2 separate regions of the Homo sapiens genome follow, and region 2 is linked to region 1. Evidence: promoter capture Hi-C in 16 types of primary human blood cells and fetal thymus (Javierre and others, 2016). All regions are on one chromosome and are shown on one strand. Each heading gives the region's core, a stretch centred on a gene start or on the middle of the fragment in contact. The rest is flanking DNA. Distances are from core to core; before and after follow the strand shown.

Region 1 (3,352 bases), core at 600-3,099:
TTCATTCTTTTGCATGTGGATATCCAGTTGTCCCAGCACCATTTTTTGAAAACACTATTCTTTCCCCATTAAATTGTCTTGGCACTCTTGTTGAAAATCAATTGGCAGTAAGTGTAAGGGCTTCTGTCTGGACTCTCAGTTTTATTCCATTGGTCTGTATGCCCATCCTTATACCCGTACCACCCTGCCTTGATGACTGAAGTTTCCTAGTAAGTTTTGAAATCAGGACTTGTGAGTCCCCCAACTTATTCTGAATTTACTTTAACTTTTGATACCGAACACAGTGTGAGAGGTGAATGAACAGCATGACATTGGAGTTGGGAGCCCCCTCCCTCCAAAGGCCTTATTTTAGGAACACAGGCCCCAAGTGCCACACAAGCCTTGGAGAGATGGGTTCCCATCCTCTCAGCCCATGGCTCTTCATTATCAATCAATGGAAACATTCTTCGGAGAACAATGATTCCCTTGGGTTATTTTAAACATGGCTTTAAGTCTTCCCCACATGCTCTACTGTCTAATTGCTTTTCCTGAAACAGTGTCATTCACAACTGGATTATTAATGAACTGAGAGGGAGCCAGGGAGCCAATGAAGGGGGCTTACAGAGTTCCTGGAGAGGGCCTGGGGGCCTGGAACAAGTTCAACCCACAGATTTTCTCTCCCCCAAGAAAGGTGACTGAGCAAACAGAAAATCACTAAACTCAGGTGATGCTGGTGGCCTCAAAAGAATATTGCCAGTGAAAAAAAAAGGATTCGGGCGAGTTCCTCAAACATGACAGCTGAGAATCAAATTAACTGGGTACCATCCCCAAACTCCCCAAACTTAAACTCTGAATTTCCCCAGCTGGCTGGCCCTGGGGTGCCTAGGGCTCTCATCTGTAGGCCGGGAAAGCTCAGGAAACAAGGCCTTTGTGGAGAAGAGAAACCTATTGTTCTAAGGCCAGGGTTCAGCAAATGTGGATTCCAGAGAATGTTTGGGGAGGTTTTCTCTGCTTTGTTTATGAACTTTCTTTTCTCTTCCTGGGGTGGTGATGGTGGGGGGTGACTCTCAGCAACTTAAATAGTTAAACCCATTGTGTTGTAAAGAAAGGCTGGTGCACAGAGTGCAGAGGCCTTCAGCCCCAGAAAGAGGCTTGAATGAGGTGACAGAAGCCACCGGGTATGTTTTGCTTTTTATTTTTAGCGTTAAATCTCAGGGAAGCAGCCCCTATCTTCATCCTGCACATCTCAAAGGGCGTCAGACGTCAGCAGAGGTACGACCACTTCCTTCCTCCAGCGCTTCACCTCCCTTCTTTCCAGAAAGAGGAAATGATGCGAGTCCACACCGCAGGCCACAGCCCCCATGTCTCGGCCCCAGCAGCTGGGGGACCTGGCCCCACAGATCTGTCCCCAGCGCAAGGCCAGGGCCGGCCCCTGGACCTCCTGGGAAGCCTTCAGACTCAGGCCGCGCAGGCCTTCAAGCTAGGAACCCTGAGTTCCTGGCCCTGGCATTCATTCTGTGTGACCTTGAGCAGGTTACCACTCCTCTCTGGGCTTCAGGATTCCCGTCTGTCAAATGGGAGCAGGGATACCGTCCTTGGCTTCCCTCTTTCCATGGTCGGGGTGGGGGTTAGGAAAACTATTTTGGAGGAGGGGGCAGCGTTAGGAAAACTATTCCGAAGCCTGGCCACGTCCCAACCGGTTTCAACTTCCTGCAGCTCAGAAGAGGGGTCCCCACCCGAGAGCGCCGGGACCCTGTCCCGCGCTGCCTCCCAAGCCGGATGGGGTTGAGCGCGCCCACCCCAGTCCCAGGAGCTCAGGCCCCGCCTTGGGGGAGGAGCCGAGAGGCGGCGCGGAGGCTCGCGGCCGAGCAGAGCCAGCTCTGTCGCCGCTGGAGCAGCTGCGGCTCGGGGACCCACAGACACAGCCGGGGTCGGGAGCCGCCCGGGGCAGGGCTCGGGAGAGCGGGTGAGTTCCCCGGCGGCGCCACCACCCTCCTTGCGCTCTGCGGCTTCGCAGGGCGGGGGATGAGGATGGGGCGGGGAGGTGGTCCCAGCCTGCTATCACCTAGCTGGGGGCCGGGGCGCTTTGGCCAAGGGACGATAGCTTGAGATAAATGGGAGTGTGGGGACTCTGGAAAGACGGGTACCGAGAGCGCTAGGTCCGGGAGTCGGGCTGGAATGGGGGCGTTCTCCCCGGCCTCGCAATTCCTTGACGAGGCCAGGGGAGGGGGCGCATTGGCAGGTTGTTGGCTGCGGCCGTCGTAGACCGATCTTGGGGCGGGGAGGTGGGGTCCTCGGTCTGTTCTGGACTCATGGGGCCGCCGTCTGCCGGGGGTGCAATGCCGGGCGGCGGGAGCCACAGCGGACACCAAACAACCCCCCCCCGCGCACTCTCCCGGCCGGGCATGGTGGTGCCGCCCCCTCGCGTGGCGGGGCTTGGTCCTGGCGGGCAGCGGCAGGGCGCAGAGAGCGCTCCTGCCCGGGCGGGAAAGATCCCCAAGGCAGGCGCCTCCACCTGCAGACCCGCCCCGCCTCAGGATCCGGCTGACAGCACCAGCCAGCCCGGGGAGACCCCGCGAGTGGTAGTTCCCCGGGAGGGGCGCGCCCGGCCTCTCCCAGGGCCCCGTGCGCCGGCGGCTGGGTCCCCCGCGCCAGGAGCGCTCCCCTCTGGGCGACTCCGGCTCATCGATTCCGGCCCAGAGGAGCGCCCCCGGGCGCCGAGGATGGGCGGAGACGTGCAGCCGCCCCTGAGAGGTCGCCCAGAGGGGTCTCCCCAAGGTCACCCGGAGTGCCCAGGCTGAGCTGCCCAGACCGCCCCGGGTGGAGAGCCGGGAGGCAGGCGCTCGCTGCCCTCCTCCTTCCCCCATGTAGACTCCCTTCCTCCGCTCCCCCACCCCGGCCCGGCCTCCAGCTTCACTGGAGATGCTGATGATGCAGCTCCCAGCCCTTGGAGGATAATTGAGCCTGGGAGAGCTTTGAATCTGGCCCTCCTGAGACCCCAGGGCTGCGCCGCTGCCGCGCGCCAGGCCTGGGTCCCGGTGCTCCCGGGCACCTCAGGAGCGGAGGGAGAGGGATGTGGCTTCATCAGCGCTTCTAGGAACCGAAAACCGAGCTGCCTGCGCGCCCATGTGATTGCATTTCACATAAAGGGCCCCTGTTTTCACTGTCAGAAGAGCCCCCCAGCTCTCCGCGGCTCTGGACACCAGGTGCCGCCTCTGAATCACCCTCTGTGGAGGACCCGGGGCCCGGAGGTACAGGCGCCCTTTCCCGCAGGGCTCTCCCTGGAAAGGGCCTGCCGATGGCGGCCTCAGTCCGCAGGGGTACTTCCCTGTGTACCCTGCCATTTCCTGCGGCTGGTGAAGCACCGGAGAAA
Region 2 (3,352 bases), core at 569-3,068, 92 kb after region 1:
CAGCCTCCCTCCACCTCTTGTCTTTTTCCAACTTCCTTCTTTCTCTCCTCCCTCCCTCCTTCCTTCTTTCTCTCCTCCCTTCCTCCTTCCTTCTTTCTCTCCTCCCTTCCTCCTTCCTTCTTTCTTCCCTCCCTCCCTCCTTCCTTCTTTCTTCCCTCCCTCCCTCCTTCCTTCTTTCTTCCCTCCCTCCCTCCTTCCTTCTTTCTTCCCTCCCTCCCTCCTTTCTTCTTTCTTCCCTCCCTCCCTCCTTCCTTCTTTCTCTCCTCCCTTCCCCCCTTCCTTCTTTCTTTCCTCTCTTCCTTCTTTCTTTTCTCCCTTCCTCCCTTCCTTTCTTCCCTCCCTTCCTCCCTTTCTGCCTTTCTTCTGTCTCCCCTCCCTTCCTTCTTTCTTCCCTTCCTCCCTCCTTTCCTTCTTTCTTCCTCCCTCCCTTCCTTCCTTCTTTCTTCCCTCCCTTCCTTCTTTCTTCCCTCCCTCTCTCCCTCCCTTTCTTTTCCCTACCTGCCTCCCTCCCTCTCTCCCTCCCTTCCTTTCTTCTTTCTTCCCTTCCTCCTTCCCTCCTTTTCTGCTTTTCTTCCTTCCTCTCTTTTCTCTTTTTTTCTCTCTCTCTGTCACTCTTTCTCAGTCTCTCTTGGTGCTTGTCACTTTCTTTCTCCCCACATCCTCTCTTCATCTCTCTCTCTGCTTCTACCTCTCACCCTCTCCTCCCCTCAGTTCCCCTTTACTCTCCCCATCTCTGTGTGCCTGTTCTGCTCTTTTCTTCTTCTATCTCTGTCTCTCCTTCACTCTTGGTCTGTCTCTGTATTTTCCAGTCTCTTTTTATTTTCTCTCTTCTCCTTTCATTCTCCCTTTCCCCCCAATTTTTTATAGTGATAAAACACATATAACATAAAATACCATCTTACCCATTTTAAGTGTGCAGGTTAGTGGTATTAAGTACATTCATATTGTTGTGCAGCCATTACCACTCTCCATCTTCAGAATGACTTTCATCTCGCAAAACTGAAACTCTGTACCCATCAAACAGTAATTCCCATTCCCTGCCTACCCCTGGCTCCTGGCGACCACCATTCTACTTTCTGTCTCTATGAATTTGACTACTGTAAGCACTTTATAGAAGTGGATTCAGAAAGGCCGGGCACGGTAGCTCACGCCTGTAATCTCAGCACTTTGGGAGGCTGAGGCAAGTGGATCACCTGAGGTCGGGAGTTCGAGACCAGCCTGACCAACATGGTGAAGTCCCATCTCTACTAAAAATACAAAATTAGCCGGGCATGGTGGTGCATGCCTGTAATCCCAGCTACTTGGGAGGCTGAGGCAGGAGAATCGCTTGAACCCAGGAGGCGGAGTTTGCGATGAGCTGAGATCATGCCATTGCACTCCAGCCTGGGCAACAAGAGCAAAACTGCACCTCAAATAAATAAATAAATAAATGAAAAGTGGATTCAGCTGGGTGTGGTGGCTCACGCCTGTAATCCCAGCTACTCAGGTGGTGGAGGCAGGAGAATCGCTCGAACCCAGGAGACTGAGGTTGCAGTGAGCCAAGATTGTACCACTGCAATCCACCCTGGGCGACGGAGTGAGACACCATCTTAAAAAAACAAGAAGTGGATTCATACAGTATTTGTCTTTTTTTGACTGGCATATTTCACTTAGCATAATGTCCTCAAGGTTCATCTATGTTGTAGTATGTGTCAGAGTTTCCTTCCTTTTTAAGGCTGAATGTACTCCATTGTATGTCTATACCACGTTTCACTTATGCATCCATTCATTGATGGACACTTGGGTTGCCTCCATGTTTTAGCTATTGTGAATCATGCTGTGACGAACATGAGTGTACAAATATCTCTTGAAATCCTGCTTCCAATTCCTTTGGTTATACACCCAGAAGTGGAGTTGCTGGATTGTATGGTAATGCTATTTTAAATTTTTTAAGGACCTGCTATACTGTTTTCCACAACATGTTACATTCCCACCAACAGTACACAAGGATTCTAGTTTCTCCACATCCTCACCAACACTTGCTATTTTCTGCTTTTTCTTTTTTGTTAGTAGCCATACTAGTAGATGTGAGGTGGTCTCTCACTGTGGTTTTGATTTGCATTTTTCTCGTGATGAGTGACGTTGAGCATCTTTTCATGTGCCCGTTGTCCATCTGTATGTCTTCTTTGGAGAAATGTCTATTCAAGTCCTTTGTCCATGTTTGAACTGGGTTGGGTTTTTGTCATTGAATTTTAGGATTTCTCTATGTATTCTGGAGATGAATCCCTTATCAGATAGACGTACTATTTTCTCCCATTCTATAGGATGTCTTTGAAATCACTGCCAAATCCACTATCATGGAGGTTTTGTTCTATGTTTTCTCCTAAGAGTTTTATAGTTTTAGGTCTTTCATTTAGGTCATGGGTCCAGTTTGAATTAAATCTTATATATGGTATTGGGTAAGGATCTAACTTCATTCTTTTGCATGCGGATATCCAATTTTCCTACACTATCTGTTGGAAAGATGGTTGGTCTTTTCTCCATTGAATGGCCTTGGTACCCTGTCTAAAATCATTTAACCGTGTATGTGAGGGTTTGTTTCTGGACTCTATTCTATTTTATTGGTCTATATGTTTGTCTTTATGCCAGCCCCACACTGTTTGATGCTAGAGTTTTGGAGTTCGTTTTGAAATCAGGAAGTGTGAATCCGCCAGCTTTGTTCTTCTTTTTCAGGGTTGTGTTGGCTATTCAGGTTCCTTGAGATTCCCTATGAATTTTAGAGTAAGCTATTCTAGTCTGCAAAAAACATCATTGGAGATTACAGGTGGCTGACACCTGTAATCCCAGCACTTTGGGAGGCCAAAATGGGTGGACCACTTGAGGTCAGGAGTTCGATACCAGTCTGGCCAACATAGTGAGACCCTGTCTCTACTAAAAATACAAAAATTAGCTGGGCGTGGTGGTGCACGCCTGTAATCCCAGCTACTCAGGAGGCTGAGGCAGGAGAACTGCTTGAACCTGGGAGGCGGAGGTTGCAGTGAGCTGAGTTTGAGCCACTGCACACCAGCCTGGGTGATGGAGCAAGACCTTGTTTCAAAACAACAACAACAACAACAACAACAACAACAACAATCATTGTGATTCTTAAAAGTAATGGCAAGAACCACAATTACTTTTGCACCAACCTAAATAATAATTGGTATCACCCAGAGCTGGGCACTGGGCACACAGGGATGCAGAAGTCCTGGGGAGCCAGGAAGAAAGCCAGGGGTTTTAAGTACCAGAGCTGAGACAGAGCCAGACCAGGGGGCTGATCATCTGAGGGCAAGGAGTCAGAGAGAGTGGCCCAGGGCAGGTAACCTTTTGCACTGGT

The links. The method cuts DNA at HindIII sites, captures the fragments that hold promoters and counts their contacts. A CHiCAGO score of 5 or more calls a contact.
Region 2: a fragment that was not itself captured here is called in contact with the fragment with the promoter of PPP1R16B in region 1 in 9 of 17 cell types (total CD8 T cells, total CD4 T cells, naive B cells and 6 more); the score reaches 22.9 in total CD8 T cells.

The regions. Positions count from the first base shown.
Region 1 is chr20:38,803,848-38,807,199 of GRCh38, forward strand. It overlaps PPP1R16B (protein phosphatase 1 regulatory subunit 16B), which reads left to right and starts at 1,850. Exons shown (of 11, transcript NM_015568.4): 1 at 1,850-1,945. RefSeq lists enhancers at 163-1,025, 1,026-1,887, 1,170-1,439, 2,468-3,306 and silencers at 1,700-2,079, 2,270-2,489, 2,550-2,899. The HindIII fragment of the contact is 16,329 bases long and covers 1-3,352 here.
Region 2 is chr20:38,895,736-38,899,087 of GRCh38, forward strand. All of the region lies in intron 4 of PPP1R16B (protein phosphatase 1 regulatory subunit 16B), which reads left to right. Among named protein-coding and RNA genes, the nearest start is that of FAM83D, 29 kb to the right of the region's middle. The HindIII fragment of the contact is 8,801 bases long and covers 1-3,352 here.